Linked DNA regions of Homo sapiens: region 1 is linked to region 2. The links are contacts of gene promoters, found by promoter capture Hi-C in human tissues and cell types (Jung and others, 2019). All regions are on one chromosome and are shown on one strand. Each heading gives the region's core, a stretch centred on a gene start or on the middle of the fragment in contact. The rest is flanking DNA. Distances are from core to core; before and after follow the strand shown. Region 1 overlaps LOC124901681 (a long non-coding RNA gene). Region 2 holds the start of UPK3B (uroplakin 3B).

Evidence for each region. Contacts are between HindIII fragments. The study calls those that stand out against the background at their distance.
Region 1: a fragment that was not itself captured here is called in contact with the fragment with the promoter of UPK3B in region 2 in 1 of the 25 tissues and cell types used here (lymphoblastoid cells).

What each region holds. Positions count from the first base shown.
Region 1 is chr7:77,523,128-77,527,402 of GRCh38, reverse strand. The region is part of intron 2 of LOC124901681 (a long non-coding RNA gene); the gene reads left to right. Among named protein-coding and RNA genes, the nearest start is that of PTPN12, 12 kb to the left of the region's middle. RefSeq lists enhancers at 828-1,327, 1,328-1,829. The HindIII fragment of the contact is 9,064 bases long and covers 1-4,275 here.
Region 2 is chr7:76,507,726-76,512,173 of GRCh38, reverse strand. UPK3B (uroplakin 3B) reads right to left here and starts at 1,622. Exons shown (of 6, transcript NM_001347684.2): 1 at 1,437-1,622; 2 at 1,122-1,271; 3 at 292-517. The coding sequence starts at 1,521. LOC124901675 (a long non-coding RNA gene) reads left to right here and starts at 1,441. Exons shown (of 2, transcript XR_007060388.1): 1 at 1,441-1,650; 2 at 2,066-3,993. RefSeq lists enhancers at 1-258, 1,012-1,584, 1,585-2,157 and a silencer at 3,035-3,240. The HindIII fragment of the contact is 20,174 bases long and covers 1-4,448 here.

The DNA.
Region 1 (4,275 bases), core at 202-2,701, 1.0 Mb before region 2:
GTCAAATACTACCTGACCATCTAATTAGTCGTTTTTCAACATGATGACATTTGGTTTCTGTATTCAAGAATGGATCATTAACAAGGCTTATGAAATATAATTGTGCCATATAAAATTCATTCACTTTATTGATTGAGGTCAGGCCAAACTATCAGCAAAACAAAACAAGCAAAAAATCCCTTTTCTTCAGTGACCACTAATAATTTTAGATTAAAAAAAATGTGCTTCCACTTATTTGAGGTATCTAAAGTAGTTAAACTCATAGAAACAAAATAGAATGGTGGTTACCAGGGGTTGGGGGCAGAAGGGAAAAGGGGAGTTTAATGGGCATAGATTTTCAGATTTGCAAGATAAAAACGTTCTGGAGATCTGTTTCACAACAATGTGAATCAATACAGGTATACTTAATACTAGTAAACTATACACTTAAAAATGGTTAAGATGGCAAATGTATGTGTTTTTCACCACAATATAAATAAATAAAATATATAGTTTGAGATGATAAAAAATGGTTAGTGGTGATGGTTGCACAACAATGTGAATGTACTTAATGTTACTGAGCTATACACTTAAAAATGGTTAAAATGATAAATTTTATGTTAGATATATTGTACTGCAGTTAAAAAAGTATATTTAAAGTTCCATGATTTTATATTTTTATCATATTCACTATTCTGTGAAAATCTTGCACTTCATGTTTCTGTGTTGGCAACTAGAAAGCAGAGATTTCTTTCAACTCTGTTATTTAGCCTATAGTCAAACAAATAATTGGTGTCGTTAGCAGCTATACAAGTCTAAACTAAAATCTATAGAGGGAAATTTCATTTCCAAGAATTGCTGTAATATTATGCAAAAATCTTCTAATGCCCATAGAATTCTAGAAGGCACCTAATGTGCATATTATATGTCATCATTTGATGGTTACCTTACCTTGTCAGTGAATATCACATTTCTTTTATTTATTTATTTATTTTGAGATGGAGTCTCACTCTGTCACCCAGGCTGGAGTGCAGTGGCATGATCTCGGCTCACTGCAAGCTCTGCCTCCCGGGTTCACGCCATTCTCCTGCCTCAGCCTCCCGAGTAGCTGGGACTACAGGCGCCTGCCGATTTTTTAGTTATATTCAAGTTCATTCAGTAGTTGAAACTTTGGTTTTTGTTTTGTTTTAAGACAGGGTCTCTCACTCTGTCACCCAGGTTGGAATGCAGTGACACAGTCATGGCTCACTGCAGCCTTGACCTCTGGGACTCAAGTGATCCACCCACCTCAGCCTCCCGAGTATCCAAGACCACAGGCACACGCCACCACACCCAGCTAATTTTTGTATTTTTTGTAGAGAGTTTCGCCACGTTGCCTAGGCTGGCTTCAAACTCCTGAGCTCAAGCAATCTGCCTGCCTTGGCCTCCCAAAGTGCTGAGATGACAGGCATGAGCCACTGCACCTGGCTCAGTAGTTGAAAATTTGTTAAAAGGTATTTACTGTTAATAGCTAGTTACGATTAGTCTTAGTTTTCAATTAGCAAGCATTTTATGGTTTTAAAATTGTTTTTAATTTCCATTTAATATGCTCTACCAGTTACTTTTTAAAAGTATACTTTTAAAATAGTTTATTTTAAACTTTAGGGCATATCCTTTTTTTTTTTTTTTTCAAAGAAATTAACTATGTAATTTATCAAGGCAATCATCAACTGCCCTTTCCTTGTCAATTTTTAAATAGTTCCATTATTTCAAAATTCTGGTGAAATATTTATTTATATCTTTCTTCAGTAGTAAGTTGTCTCCTAGAGATATTTCATTTCTTTTTCTAGCTGAATGTTTGGTATTTAATATTTCTTCAGTAGATTTCAATTTGCTATCTTTCTGTAGTTCTCACTGAGTGATCTTTCTGTTGTGTTACATGAATACTATTTTTAAGTATATTCATAATATTTCACAAATCCAGTATCATGTGTCATACAGATGAGTCTAGGCAGTGGTTTTATTTCTAATGAGCAATTTGTGAGACATACTATTAATCATGCAATACCTTTAACAGTTGAACTTTTTAATTGTGGGTTTGTGTGTGCGAGGGAGATATTTATGATTTCTACTAAAGCCCTCAAAGCTGCTCAGACAGCCCTTTTGTCCATTTTTGGTCAGCTCCCATGGCTTTATCACTCGCTTCAAGCCCTACACCCTGCTTCTTCATTCTTAGAAAAATGGAGTTATCAAGTTTTAACTCAGTTTCTCCTTTCCAAGTGAAATTGGGAAATCACAAATTTACCCCTATAACTTACTCATTTCTCTCCACTATTAGGATTCTGTTGACCCTCTCTACCCTTTTATGTCTCTTCCTACTCTTGCTGTACAAATATCTCCTCTCCTTTATTGTCAGTCTTTTCCCCTTCAGTGACTCTCCTTATCCTACAAAATGCTCAAGACTCCCACAAACTACTGCCCATCTCATGCAACCCACAACAGTCTGACTACTGGCACATATCTCCTAAAGGACTTCCTACTTGCCAAATCTCATGACCTCTTAGTGTACATCCTTCTTAACCCTTGTGCAGCATTTGACCCTTTTCAGTGAATACCATTCCTTCTTGAAATTCTCCCTTTCCTTAGTTTGTTTTAATTGAAGTGAAATTTATATAATATGTAATTAATCATTTTAAAGTTAACAATTCAGTGGCATTTAGTACATTCACAATATTGTGCAACTACCACATCTATCTAGTTCTAAGACATTTTCGTGTCCCCAAAAGAAAGCCCTATTCCCATTAAACAGTTACTCCCTACTCCTTCCTCCCCTAACATCCTGGCAATCACCAATCTGCATTCTGTCTATATGGATTTACCTATTCTGTATATTTCATATAAAAATGGAATCATATATAATAGTATGTGGCCTCTTGTGTCTGGCTTCTTTCACTTGCATAATGTTTTGTTTCAAATCTTAATATTTTCATATTTGCCTCAGATTTTCAGTAAGAAAACAGTATGGATAGAGTTGAGATGCCTATAGAGTCCTTCCTTTCTCTCCCCAGAAATAACCATTATCTTGTATTTAGAATTTTTATTGTTCCAGTGCATGTATAACTTTATGCTGAGTAGTATCTTGCCTTTAAAAAAATTCTGGTAAAATCACATAACAAAATTTACTATCTTAACCATTTTTAAGTGTTCATTAGTGTTAAATATATTTGCATTGTTGTGCAACAGATCTCCAGAAACTTTTCATCTTGCAAAACTGAATATGTATACTCATTAAACAATGTTCCTTGATTTCCCTGTCCTTCTAGCTCCCAGTAACTACCATTCTACTTTGTTTCTATGAATATAACTATTTTAGATACCTCATACAGGTGGGCTCACATTTATTTGTCTTTTTGTGACTGGCTAATTTCATTTAGTGTAATGTCTTGAAGGTTCATCCATGTTATAGCGTATGAAAGGATTTTCTGCCTTTTTAAAGCTGAATAATATTGCATTATAAGTATATACTACATTTTGTTTATTCTTTCATCCATTGATGGACTTTTGGGCAGTGTTCACTTTTGAGGAGTTGTGAATAGTGTTCCTATGATCATGGTTTTCTGTGGAGAACCAAACTGTTTTCTACAGAAGCTGCATTTTACATTCTCACCAGAAATTGTACAAGGGTTCTAATTTATTCTCATCCTTGCCAACACTTGTTATTTTCCTTTAAAAAATTTTTGGCCATCCTACTGGGTACGAAGTGGTACCTCATTATGGTTTTGATATGCATTTTCCTAATGATTAATGATGTTGAGCATCTTTTGATGTGCTTCTTGGCTATTTGTATATCTTTGGAGGAATGTCTACTCAGCCCTTTGCCTATTTCTCTCTTTCTTTCCTCCTGTAACACTTTATACATTTAACACAATATTTTAGTCCTTACATTGCCTTATACTGGTTTGTTTATATATCTAGGTTATGAGCTCCTTAATGTAGAGATCTATCCCTGTAGCTAATAAATCTCTCCCAAGTTCATAGTAAAAGTCTGGTACATAGTAATACTCAAAAAATACTAAATCTCAGAACTTGCATTTAATTTTTTTTTTTTTTTTTTTTTTTGAGACAGGGTCATACTCTGCCAGCCAGGCTGGAGTGCAGTAATGCGATCTTGGCTCACCTCAGCCTCAACCTCCCAAGCTCAGGCAATCCTCCAGCCTCAACCTCCCAAGTAGTTGAGACTATAGGCACATGCCACCAAGCCCAGCTAATTTTTTGTGTATTTTTGTAGAGACAGGGTTTCATCATGTTGCCCAGGCT
Region 2 (4,448 bases), core at 373-2,872:
TGCCCGTGGTGGGGGACAGGGGCCTAGACTTTGGGGAAGCTGCCCCCTCCCACCTTGACTAAGATCCCGCCTCCCCAAGGTGCCCACCTGCTCCTCCTGGGCCTTGCCCGGCCCCAGCGGGGGTGAGCACTGTTGCTGACTCTACAGTGGAAGGAGCCCGGGCTTGCAAAGGGGAGGACCGGGGCCGGGGACCCCTCCCTGGAAAGATGCTAGAGAGAGCATCCCTGGTCCCAGCAATGCGTCCGCCCCAAGCACAGCCCCAGTCCCAGGGCTCCGGTGGGGACCACCCACCGATAGGGTCCAGGGCCAGGGAGGGGCGCGTTGCAGAAGGGCTGCTGGTGGCAGCCGTGGTCATGGCCCACCCGCAGCACGGGGGCGCCTCCGCTGCCCGCCATGGGGTCGCCACAGGGCAGCTGGTCCGGAGACAGGGGCAGCGTCATGTAGTGGCCATCGGTCAGCAGCTGTGGGGAGGCCGGAATGTCAGCCAGTGTCTCCGGGTTCTGGAAGCCCCTGGAGGCTGCAGGAGGAGAGAACAGATGGAGGTGGGAGGGGAGAAAGCAGCTTTGTCCTTATGAGTGGGGGTTCTGTGTTCGCCCAGTCTCCAGCCCTGACCCCCCATGCCACCTCCTCCCTCAGGGCCCCCAGAGATAGTCCAGACCCAGTCGACTTTGTTACCCCTGAAGGGGAGCTTCCCTCTGGCCTTTTGTCCCCACCCAGAGCCAGGAGTGGGGAGCAGCGGGCAGTCCCAACCTGCCCAGCCCCAGCCCCAGCCCCATTGCAGTGCACCGGCCCTGCCCCACAGGAGGCCACATCCTCCCAGGTCGCAGCCTCGGTTCCCTGTCCAAAGGAAGAACTACTTGGATTCAGAGAAAGGGTTGCAGAGCCCTTGACAGCTGACAAACCCACCACTAGCACTACTCCCGGGATTTGGTGTTCACTACGTGTGTATTTTTCAATACACATATTACCCCTTTAGATAAAGCCCAATTCATCCACACCTACTCTCCCAAAGGCCCCCACAGGGGCTCAATCATTGAAGGCGCTTGCTGGTGAGGGGCTCCTAGGGCCCACCACTCTCCTCAGCCGTCACCCTCACCCAGGCCCCACAGCAGTCCCCGTACCATTGCTGAAGGCCACCACGAGCCAGACGGTATCGCTGGCGCTGGCAAGCCCATCGAAGACACAGCGCGGCTGCTCCAGGGAGAAGGTGGTGGCTGTGACCTTCCCTTCCAGGTCCCAAGCTGTTATCTGTGGTGTGTAGGGCACCAGCTCTGTGGCCACGGGGGACAAAAGGTGAGCCACGGAGACGGGCGTGGGGGTCCCTGGGGCTGCCTCTCCCAATCGGAGGGGGGCGGGCGCCCAGGGTCCAATCACTCCAGCAGGGCCCCCAGCCCCTTGGGTCTGGCTGGACGCGTCCATCCAGGACCCCCACTCACCCAGGCTCAGGCTGGGCCGGAGACAGTTCAACGCCAGGAGGAGCATCTGCAGCCCTAGGTGAGGCTGCCCCCAGGGTAGCCCCATGACAGCTGCCAGCACCCGGGAGGCTCAGGGGCTGGTCTGGCTGCTTCGGGCTGCACCTCACCCCCAACAGCTTGGCCCTGGAGAAGCTGGTTAATCAGGCTGCCCCAGGGGCTGGAAAGACCTGCAAATGTAAGTGCACCCCACCCCCTTCCTCCCAGGCCAGCCCACAGCAGGGAGGAGCTGGGGGGACTCTGGTGGGAGGCAGGCCAGTATCCAGCCCCACTGCCAGGGCCAAGGGAGAGGGGCCACTGGAACCCCAGATGCCAGCCAGGCCATCCCGGAGCCTGGATTGGGGCCCCTCCCAGTCTCTCCGCCCTGGGGAGGAGGGTCTGGCTTTTGGAAACAGGCTCAGGACCACATGCCTGAGATTCCTGTGCCCCAGGTGCCAGGAGCCTCCCTCTGCCTTCTGTCCCCACCCAGAGTCAGGAGTGGGGAGTAGCAGGCAGCCCCAACCTGCCCAGCCCCATCCCCATCACAGCACGCTGGCCCTGCCCCCCACGAGGCCACATCCTCCCAGTTCGCAGCCTGGGTTCCCTGTCCACAGGAAGAAGAACTTGGATTCAGAGAAAGGGCTGCAGAGCCCTTGACAGCTGACAAGCCCGCCACTTAAACACTACTCCCGGGATTTGGCGCTCACTATGTGTGTATTTTTCAAGACATAACTCACATACCTTCACAACCTTCACAGCTCAGTGGCTTAAATATATATATGTCACCCAGGGAGGTCAGTTCACAGCTAACTGGAGCCTCAAACTCCCAGGTTCAGTTAATCCTCCCACCTCAGCCTTCCCAGTAGCTGGAACCACAGGCACACAACACCATGCTCCGGCTAATTTTTAAAATTTATTTAATTAATTTTTTTTTAAGATGGAGTCTCCTTTGTTGTCCAGGCTGGAGTGCAGTGGCGTGATCTGGGCTCACTGCAACCTCCGCCTCCTGGGTTCAAGCGATTCTCCTGCCTCAGCCTCCCAAGTAGCTGGGATTACAGGCATGTGCCCCACGGCCAGCTAATTTTTGTATTTTTAGTAGGGACGGGGTTTCACCATGTTGGCTTGGCTGGTCTCAAATTCCTGATCTCAAGTGATCCACCCGCCTTGGCCTCCCAAAGTGCTGGGATTACAGGCATGTGCCACCGTGCCTGGCACCCCCGCCAATTTTTTTTTTGTTTTTTTTGAAACGGAGTTTTCACTCTTGTTGCCCAGGCTGGAGTACAATGGCTCGATCTTGGCTCACCGCAACCTCCACCTCCTGGGTTCAAGTGATTCTCCTGCCTCAGCCTCCTGAGTAGCTGGGATTACAGGCATGTGCCACCACACCTGTCTAATTTTGTATTTTTAGTAGAGATAGGGTTTCTCCACGTTGGTGAGGCTGGTCTCGAACTCCTGACCTCAGGTGATCCACCCACCTCAGCCTCCCAAAGCGCTGGGATTGCAGGTGTGAGCCACTGCGCCCGGCTGGCCAATTTTTAAAAATGTATTTTTTATAGAAACAGGATCTTGCTATGTTGCCCAGGCTGATCTCTAACTCCTGGGAGGATCAAGCAAATCTCCTGCCTTGGCCTCCTAAAGTATTGGGATTACAGGCGTGAGCCACCGTGCCTGGCTATTTTTTTTTTTTTTTGAGACATGGAGTCTCACCCTGTCGCCCAGGCTGGAGTGCAATGGCGTGATCTCTGCTCACTGCAACCTCCACCTCCTGGGTTCAAGCAATTCTTCTGCCTCAGCCTCCCTAGTAGCTGGGACTACAGGCACCTACCACCATGCCCAGCTAATTTTTGTATTTTTAGTAGAGATGAGGTTTCACCAACTTGGCCAGGCTGGTCTCGAACGCCTGACCTCGCGATCTACCTGCCTTGGCCTCCCAAAGTGCTGGGATTACAGGCATGAGCCACTGCGCCCAGCTGCTAATTTTTAAAAATATAGTTTTTGAGGCTGGGTGTAGTGACTTACGGCGGTAATCCCAGCACTTTGGGAGGCCGAGGTGGGCAGGTCACTTGAGGTCATGAGTTCGAGACCAGCCTGGCGAACATGGTGAAACCCTGTCTCGACTAAAATTACAAAAATTAGCCGGGTGTGGTGGAACGTGCTTGTAATCCCAAGTACTCGGGAGGCTGAGGCAGGAGAATGACTTGAACCCGGGAGGCGGAGGTTGCAGTGAGCTGAGATCGCACCACCGCACTACAGCGTGGATGACAGAGTGAGACTCTGTCTCAAAAAAAATATAATAAAAATATATTTCTTGTAGAGACAGGGTCTCACTGTGTTGCCCAGCCTGGTCTTGAACTCCTGGCTCAAGGGATCCTCCTGCCTCAGCCTCCCAAAGTGCCCAGATTACAGGCATGAGCCACAGCGCCCAACAGCTTTTAGTATATCAACAAGGTTGTGCAACCATCACCAATTCCAGAACCTTCTTACTTCCCCAAAACGAAACACTACACCCATTAAACGGTAACTCTCCATTCTCCCGTCCCCAGTGACGACTAAGCTACTTCTTGTTTCCATGGTTTTGCCCGTAATGGACATTTCATAGGATGCAGTCACACAACATGTGACCTTTTGTGTCTGGCTTTTGTTACTTTTTCAAGGTTCCTCCTCGACTGTGATTGCTTCATTCCTTTTCACAGTTGAGTAATATTCCATCCTGTGAACGTATCACACTTTCATTCATCAGTGGATGCAGAATTTGTTTTTTTCCACTGTGGGGCTACTGTAAATAATGCTGCCATGAGCATCCGTGCGCAGGCTTCTGTGGGCACATTTTCAATTCTCTTGAGAATGTACCTAGGAGTGGAACTGTGGTCATATGCTAATGCTGCTTTCTGAGGTTCTGTTTGCCAAAGTGGCTGCATTTTACATTCCCAGTAGCAGTGGATGAGGGTCCCATTTCTCGACATCCTCTCCAACACTGCTTTTTGTTTTAGTATAGCC